Linked DNA regions of Homo sapiens: region 2 is linked to region 1. The links are contacts of gene promoters, found by promoter capture Hi-C in blood cells and fetal thymus (Javierre and others, 2016). All regions are on one chromosome and are shown on one strand. The core of a region is centred on a gene start or on the middle of the fragment in contact, and the rest is flanking DNA. Distances in the headings are between cores, read along the strand shown.

Evidence for each region. The method cuts DNA at HindIII sites, captures the fragments that hold promoters and counts their contacts. A CHiCAGO score of 5 or more calls a contact.
Region 2: a contact is called between a fragment that was not itself captured here and the fragment with the promoter of WFDC3 in region 1, in 2 of 17 cell types (M2 macrophages and M0 macrophages). The highest score is 6.5, in M2 macrophages.

Annotation. Positions count from the first base shown.
Region 1 is chr20:45,788,922-45,793,323 of GRCh38, reverse strand. WFDC3 (WAP four-disulfide core domain 3) reads left to right here and starts at 1,441. Exons shown (of 7, transcript NM_080614.2): 1 at 1,441-1,492; 2 at 3,342-3,430; 3 at 4,265-4,393. The coding sequence starts at 3,349. It overlaps DNTTIP1 (deoxynucleotidyltransferase terminal interacting protein 1), which reads right to left and starts at 1,370. Exons shown (of 13, transcript NM_052951.3): 1 at 1,215-1,370; 2 at 577-647. The coding sequence starts at 1,319. RefSeq lists silencers at 668-807, 1,018-1,287. The HindIII fragment of the contact is 10,060 bases long and covers 1-4,402 here.
Region 2 is chr20:45,609,224-45,613,625 of GRCh38, reverse strand. WFDC9 (WAP four-disulfide core domain 9) reads left to right here. Exons shown (of 5, transcript NM_147198.4): 3 at 3,387-3,535. The coding sequence starts at 3,445. Among named protein-coding and RNA genes, the nearest start is that of WFDC10A, 18 kb to the left of the region's middle. The HindIII fragment of the contact is 832 bases long and covers 1,948-2,779 here.

The DNA of each region.
Region 1 (4,402 bases), core at 192-2,691:
CCCAAAGTGCTGGGATTACAGGCGTGAGCCACCGCGCCCGGCCCAAAGTGTTTTTATGAAATATAATACTTATACAGAAAAGTCTATACACTTTAATGAGTAATTATAGTGAACATCCATTTCACCACTATCAGCATCCCAAAGGCCCACCTTGTGCTCTCTCCCTTCCCTGACATGCATACTATTAATCCCTCTTTATAGTTGAGAAAACGGGCTCATCAGAGTCTGTTGATGAGAACACAGTTGTCTGACTCCAGAGCCTGTTCTCTTAAACTCCATGCTAACTGACCTCTTTAGAGCCCTCAACCACAGAGCCAGTGAATGTGAGGGATCTTAGGTATTGTTTATTCCACAACCCATCTCCTGTGCCCTTCCCCATTTTGTACGTGAGTTCAGAGAAGGAAGTGACTTGACTAGTTCAAGATCACACAGAGTTACAGAATCGGAGTCTCCTCTTCCTCAGTCCTGTGCTCTTTCTACCGGCTGTAGATCTCCATAGCCTTGTGCACTGGGGATCCCAAATCTGCCATGCAAGCCAGTGGCTGGGATATAAGCCCCATGCAGGGCCAGCCTTACCTTGTTGTCATCTGTGAGCGGCGGCCCCTCCGCTGCACCTGCCGGTGCTTTATCATTATGTTCCAAGGGTTCTGTGGGGACCAACGGAACAAATGTCACTGCGGCCTGTGACACTGGGGTGGGGTGGAGGTGGAGGGTGGGTATGAAGTTAAACCTGGACATCCCTGCTTCTCAGATCCGTCACCATCTCTCCCGCCTTGGGGTGGGACGATAGTTGTAAGGCCTCCTCCACAAAAGAGGAACTGAGGAAGTTTCCTGCCTTAAAAGTCCCGACCCTGCCTTCTGGCACGGCAGGAGGAAGGGAAGCAGTATTTACCGAGGGTCAACTCTGTGTCAGGTGATGTCCGGGGCGTTGTACCCGCCTTTATCTTCCCATCCCACAACAAGTTTTATGAGACAGGTACTAATCATTTCCATTTTATAGAAGAGGATCCTGGGACTCAGGGGGTTGACAGAGATGGCCCACGTCACCTAGCTAGGAGGGCGGCACCAGAATTTAAATCCAGGTCGTCGGGCTGCGAAAACGCCAACCCCCTCTGCAGCTCCAGCCTCCGCGTTCTCTCGCCCGCGGGCCAGGGTCCCAGGAGCCCCGAGGCCGTGCCCGGCCTGAGCCCAGACCTCACCGGGGGCGCCCTCACCGTAAGAACCAGCTGCCCCGCTGCGCCCGCATCCCCCAGCTCCAAGCCGCCCCTCTCGGCCCCGCTAGGTCCCCGCGGCTGCTCGGCGTCGCCAGTGGCTCCCATGGCGCCCCCGGCCCCCACAACTCCGCTGGACTCTGTCACCGGCCGGAAAGTGGCGCCGTGACGTCACTGGAGCGCGCTGCTCGTCCGCCCGGAAGCGCGACGCTGGAGCTGCGGGGTTACCATGGGAACCGAACCGCCGCGCCTCGCCCAGGACAGTTACACTTAGAGGCCTTGTAGGTGGAGGTCGTTGGGGCTTCCTCTCGGGAGGGCTGCGCCTCGATTGTGCAGTGTGGGTGTTCAGTGGCGGTTCAGTCAAGGGATGTTTCCCGCTGGGCCAAGGCCTGGGGATGACTGCGGGGTAGGAGGAAGGGACCAGTTTTCTGTAGGCTGGGGTTGGGGAGCAGAGGGAAGCGTTTGGTACAGCGGCGCCTGCAGTTCAGTTTTTGAAAACTAGATTTTAATATGCTCGGCCAGGGGCGGTGGCTCACGCCTGTAATCCCAGCACTTTGGGAGGCCGAGGCGGGAGGATCACTTGCCATCAGGAGTTCGAGACCAGCCTGGCCAACATGGCGAAACCCCGTCTCTACTAAAAATATAAAAATTAGCCGGGCGTGGTGGTGGGCACCTGTAATCCCAGCTACTCGGGAGGCTGAGGCAGGAGAGTCTCTTGAACCCAGGAGGCGGAGGTTGCAGTGAGCCGAGATCACGCCACTGCACTCCAGCCTGGGCGACAGAGGGAGACTGTCTCAAAAAAAAAAAAAAAAAAAGCACATTAGGCACATGTTAGGTCATCATCAAATGTTAATTATGCCGAGATCGCGCCACTGCATTCCAGCCTGGGGGACAGAGGGAGACTCTGTCTCAAAAAAAAAAAAAAAAAAAAAAAAAAAAGCATATTAGGCACATATGAGGTCATCATCAAATGTTAATTATCTCCATGAGCCAACATCAGCCTTCTAACCATAAGGGCGACTTCCTGGCTCCAAACTTTTTGATCCTATTAAGGAGGTTTTACCTTGTACCTGCCCATAGGACTAAGCAGTGCCAGTGGACACCATTAGGTATCACAGCTAACCAAAGGCATGACCAGGACAGATAAAGAAAAAAAGAAATGGAGAAAAAAGAAATAAAGGAGGTATATGTGGGCAGACTATTTGAGTCATACATAGCAACTTCTCTTGGGTTCTGCCAGCTAGACTTCATACAGTCCAAGAATGGCCTGTGTGGGTTAGAGGGACAAAGATGTAGGTGTTTGGTGCTTTTCATTAGTTCTTAACAAACTCAACTACTGCTTTTCTGTAGGTTTTTGATAGTTTCTTTTCTCTCTTTTTTTTTTTTTTGAGACAGAGTCTCACTCTGTTACCCAAGCTGGAGTGCAGTGGCATGATCTCCACTCACTGCAACCTCTGCCTCCTGGGTTCAAGCTATTCTCCTGCCTCAGCCTCCCACGTAGCTGGGATTACAGGCATGCACCAGCATGCCCAGCTGATTTTTGTATTTTTAGTAGAGACAGGGTTTCGCCATGTTGGCCAGGCTGGTCTCAAACTCCTGACCTCAGGTGATCTGCCCGCCTTGGCCTATTTGATAGTTTCTGAGTGGTCTGTTCCATTCTGTATTTTCTTGGTTGCTAGGATGAACAGGAGCCACAATTTTATTATGCTTGGTTATGTTATTAGCTTTGGCCATTAAGTAGTGTCGTGAATCCCTCCCTCTGTTATTTGGGCTAAAGCCATGTCCTTCCAATGCCCTTTAGGGCTCTCTTTGATTCTTTTTCCAATGGCCACCCCTCCATTTTTCCAGCCACCCACTAGGTTTCTCATCATCCAGGAATATTGTGTATATTGCTTACAGAATTTGATCCTCCCATCACAGGTCCCCTTTGGTAGTGCCAGGAATTTTCCCACACTCCAGCAGCCAATCCCTCTTCTTCTTGTCAGGAGAAGATATTCTTGGGGAGTATTGTGAAAGGGAAGGTTTTGGGACTGGGTTTGGGGCCATCCCTAGTCCTGCTCATACCTCAGCTGATACTCTGGGCAAGGTGTACACCTCTAGCCTGAACTGAGCTCTTGTCCCAACTCTCAGCATCATCATGATGTTAAGCTGCCTCTTTCTTCTGAAGGCACTTCTTGCTCTTGGGTCTCTGGAATCCTGGATAACTGCAGGAGAACATGGTGAGCTATCATTTGGGATCCCTGGCCAACAGTAACAGAAAGTGACTAGAGGAGAGGAGAACTCATCCCCTGCCTTCTCCCAGAGCAAGGTTGCTTGTAAGTGGAGATGATCATCTCTATAGGACAGGACTGGATGAATAGATTCTCAGGATGGCCTGGGTCATTCTTCCTGGCTTTCTTTACCCTCTCTGGACAAGGAGATAGGACTTCCAGTTGGGCTTACTAGAGGTTCTAGCTTTTCCCTAGAACTCATTAAATGAGAACAGGATCATCCCACCCTTTCTCTCTCGTTATCTGCAGGATGGCTGCTCCTTTAGCAGTGGTGGATATATGTTAGTATTTGTGTATGAGGAGGGGAAGGTGGTTGCAGAATTTTTTTTTTTTTTTTGAGATGGAGTCTCACTCTGTCACCCAGGCTGGAGTGCAGTGGCGTGATCTCAGCTCACTGCAAACTCCACCTCCCAGGTTCACGCCATTCTCCTGCCTCAGCCTCCCGAGTAGCTGGGACTACAGGTGCCCGCCGCCACGCCCAGCTAATTTTTTGTATTTTTAGTAGAGATGGGGTTTCACTGTGTTAGCCAGGATGATCTCGATCTCCTGACCTCATGATCCGCCCGCCTCGGCCTCCCAAAGTGCTGGGATTACAGGCATGAGCTATCGTGCCCAGCCAGAATTTTTTTTTTTTTTTAAGAGACAGGGTCTCATTCTGTCACCCAGGCTAGAGTGCAGTGGTGCAGAAATATTTTGGATAGAGATGCCTGGAGGGGCTGAAGGTCCATTCCCCATTTCTGAGGCCTGGCTAGTTACCCCAAACTCAAATAGTATCTTTTGCAGCAAAAGAGGGAGAATGCCCTCCCCATAAGAACCCATGCAAAGAGCTGTGCCAGGGTGATGAATTGTGTCCGGCTGAACAGAAGTGCTGCACCACAGGCTGTGGTCGGATCTGCCGAGACATTCCTAAGGGTATGTTGG
Region 2 (4,402 bases), core at 1,114-3,613, 180 kb after region 1:
CTCCAAGCTTCTCCATTAAGAACCTGTGTCTCTGCCAGCTTACCTAAGCATGACTTGATGAAGTTGCCAAGCTAAGATGTTGCTGCTTTTGCCTCTGCTCGAATCTCTTAAAAGTGATTTGTCTAAAAGTCAATACATCTAATGACATGTGCCTAAAACTTGTATTTTTCACCTTCCAAATTTCACAGAAGCTAAGAGGAGAATACATTTTCAAAGTCTCCTCTGAAAAATTTGGCAGCTTTAAAATTTTTCTAGTATTACCTCTGCTTTTGAGCAGAGTCATTTTGGTGGATTCATCTAGAGCAGCATTGTTCAGTAGAACTTTCTGTGATGATGGAAAGGCTCCGCGCCTGAGAAATAAGGAATGTTAAATAGGACACACAAGAAGTCAAAGGTTGATGTAGACTATTCCCATCGTCCTATGTATAAATGGAATGAGAAGCATCAGAGAAAGACTTTGGGGACAATAGCCACTAACTACATGTGACCATTGAATACTTGAAATGACTGGAAACTGAATTTTGATTTAATTTAATGAGTTTGAACAGTCATAAGTGGCTAGTGGCTACCACATTGGACAGCACAAAGAAATCTCTTTTGCTTCATTGAAAATTTCTGAACAAATATAAAGACTTTCAGGCAGAGGGAAAATCACTGCCTTGTTCATGCAATGATGCAATTCATGTCAGAATTTTATCCTTTTCTTTGACTCTTATTTTCCTTCCTATTTGGTTCTAGAAAAGTAGAGCAATAGAGAATGAGGGGGGTAGATGGGAGAAGGCTGGGAAGTTTCCATTGTAATTAGGTTCCTCTTCCACTCTTCTATTATTTATAGTTCAAATTTTTCTCTTTTCTAATTATAGTGGCTTAAACACTTGAAAATAATGTTAAAAAGTAGTCTTAATAGTGCATATCTTTTTTTCCTATTTCTAATTTTAATGGGAGTACTTTCAGTTTTATAATGTGGAATGCTGGATTTTGGATTGCAATAGTTAAATTTTTACAGTGTTAAGAAAATGTCTATCTATTCCTTTTTATTAAGATTTTTCTGCTGTTCCCATACTCTAGTTTCCCTTACCCCTCAGCTGTCACTCAGCTGAAGGCTATTTTATTTTCTTCCATTTCCTTATTTTTCTCCTTACCACTGATTACCATCTATGCATTTCCTTATCTTGTTTAACTAGAATGCCAGCTGTATAAATGGGAGGATTTTTGTCTGTTTTGTTCACCACTATATTCCAATACCCAGAACTTGGAATATATTCCAATACCCAGAACTTGGAATATAGTTAGGCACTTAATAAGTACTTATTGAGTGAATGAACTCCCCCTGTCTCCCTCCACACACAGAGGCATAGAATCTAAACAGATTAAAATGCTAAGTGTAAAAAAAAAAGTAAAAAGAAAAAAATTGTAATTGAAAATAGTTTTCAAATATCCAGAGGAGGATATTCTGAGCTTAATGCTGACAGTTAACATTTATGAAGTATATACTATATTCCAGGTCCTATGCTTAGTGTTTCATACATATTATTTAATCTTCCCAGTGACCCTATGAGATGAGATGAGTATTGATATTTTTTTCTGTAATATGGATGGGGAAAACCAGGCTCTGGGGATTATGTGGCTGGCCCAGGCTCCACGGCTAGGAGTTGGTGGGGTTGGGATTCTAATTCAAGCCTATCTGACTCTGGGGCCCATGTTCTTTCCTCTTAAAATACCCATCAGCAAATAGTGTGGTGATGAAAATTACCTTTGTATAGCCTAGAGTAGAACAAGGGGTGGAGGGACATGCATTTGATATCCGGTAGGTGGAAATGTAACCTAACCCTTAGTGAGAGAAATGTGGCGGCAATTATCCAAAGCCTGGGAAAGACAATGTCTTTTGCCTAGAAATCTTTCTTCATTAACTCATGCTATAAAAATAACAATATATGTACCAAAGCTTTAACTATAAGGAGGTTCATCAGGACATTTTTATAACGAGAAGAAATTGAAACTATTCAGGTCTTGATGATATGAGGAAATGATAGTAATAAGTATGACTGAATTCTTGTCATGACTTGTATGATGTGAGCATATTTTTGCCTCCCCTGTATATTTCATTCAGAATTGTTAGTTTATTTCCTTGCTTCTTCAGGAAAATTTAGGTAGGTCTCCACAAATTTTATGTGATTCTCCAGTCATGAAACATCTTCTCAATATAATAAGTAAAATGTGCAGGCCCATGAAATTAGTCACAACTACATAAATTGTTCAGAACTATGGATTCCTCCCTCCCTCAGAAGCTCCAGTTATGGAACAGGATGTGGTGAATCTCTCTCCCCCGCCTCCCACCACCCCCACTCTGGCTCTTTGTAATTCTATTCCTCCACCCACTCTGGACTAAAGCAAGTTTCTGTCTCCTAGGGAGTAGAGGGAGGACGGACCAATAAGAGTAGTAGGAAAGTTCTTGTGTAATAGATACTATCATGAGCTGGTTCTGTGCTTCTGGTCTTGACTCTTTCGTGGGAGATTTCAAGGGTTCATTGGAAACATGAAATGTCGTCTGGCCATTTGCAGTTCAGATACTTCACAAATTAGAGCCCTCTTCTCTGCTACTACAGGCCGCTTTGGCCAGATTTAAAGTCACCCTTTAAAGTCTTCAGTCATGATTCAAGTCTACTGTGTTCCCATAGACTTCTAGGATCACATAGCAAGCTCAATGAGTCGTATTCATAAAACCTTTTCTCTCAACTTGGAATTAGGAGGCAGCATTCCGGCTTTCACGAGCAAAGCTTTTTACCAATAAAATTTCCTTCAAAATCTTCTCTACAATTCCTCCAACTTTGGACCATCTTAGTGCATTAAAGTTTTGAGTCCCCTAACAGTTCTTGGCCATCATCTTTTCTCAAGTCCTGTTATCTATCTGTAATTCCCTCTTAAATTGCTTTAGTGCCTTTTGTCTTAGGATCTTCACTAAAACTTCTTTACATCATCATGTTTCATATGCTTCAAAATAAAATATCAGGACACTTGATGTGTCCAATTTCATAAAAATAATGACTACAACATAAAAGTATAGACATATATTGATTATCTCTAGATGGTGGAATTGCTAATGCTTGTTTATTTCCTCTTTGTATTTTTAATTTTACATATTATATAATCTGAGGATTTATTGTTTTTAATCAGACAGGAGAAATTCATTTTAATAAGAAATAATTTTGCAAAGGAAGGGGTATGTAATATGAGATGAGAAGAAACCTGGGGAAGTCACTGGCTAGCCTGGGAGTTGGTTGGTATGCTACTGGGTACTAGAAAGGGAAAGAATAACATGATAGTCATAAGCACTTTACCCCTGTTGCTTACCCTGTTCTCCTCAATCCATTTTCTACGTCTAGCAGTATTGGGAAAAGACTTGCCTTCTGCCAGAACTTAACCCAAATACACACAGAGAGCACCATGAAGCCCTGGATTCTTCTACTCGTCATGTTCATCTCTGGAGTTGTGATGCTTCTGCCTGTGCTGGGAAGCTTCTGGAACAAAGATCCCTGTGGGTGGTGTGAAAAGGGACGGGGTGCTCTGCCCAGTCCTGGGATGTCTATTGTAGCTGATCCAGGGCCTGCATGTCAAGAATCAGGCTTTAAAGGATCTCTCCTTAAGTAGAGATATTCAAGCAAGATTAGGTTAGATATTCCCAATTCCTTTAAGTTTTCTCTTTCAGCTCTGAAAGCAACACTAGGTATGTGAAAAGGGAACGTATCTTTTGTCTATATTCCATCAGCTAGCAGGAAATAATATTTTCCAATATCAGACCAGTAGAGGAAAAACCAACACAGAGCTTCCCTCCAAGCCCATATTTTCAGAACCTTTGTGCCTCAGTTGGGTGAGCCTTTGATGAATGCCAAAAGGGTAATATTTAACACGTTAATTTAGTTGGAGGGGAAGAGTCTTTTAGAACATGAAAAATGGAAAAGACAAATAAAGGCTCCTTAGTGGGTCAAAGTTTGGGTTCATATGATAAGAAAATGTGGACAACAAAGACACTGAGCAGGAGGGTTGTGGGCCAGGGAAATAAAATTTATGGAGAGACTGACTTCTTAGGTGGCATCATCAGGGAAACAAATAGAAGGGGAGAAAAATGGCTGGGCACGGCGTCTCACACCTGTAATCCCAGCACTTTGGGAGGCTGAGGTGGGCGGATCACGAGGTCAGGGGTTCGAGACTGCCCAACCAACATGGTGAAACCCCGTCTCTATTAAGATACAAAAAATTAGCCAGGCATGGTGGTGTGCTCCTGTAATCCCAGCTACTCAGGAGGCTGAGGCAGGAGAATCGCTTGAACCCGGGAAGTGGAGGTTGCAGTGAGCTGAGATCATGCCGTTGCACTCCAGCCTGGGCGACAGGGCAAGACTCTGTC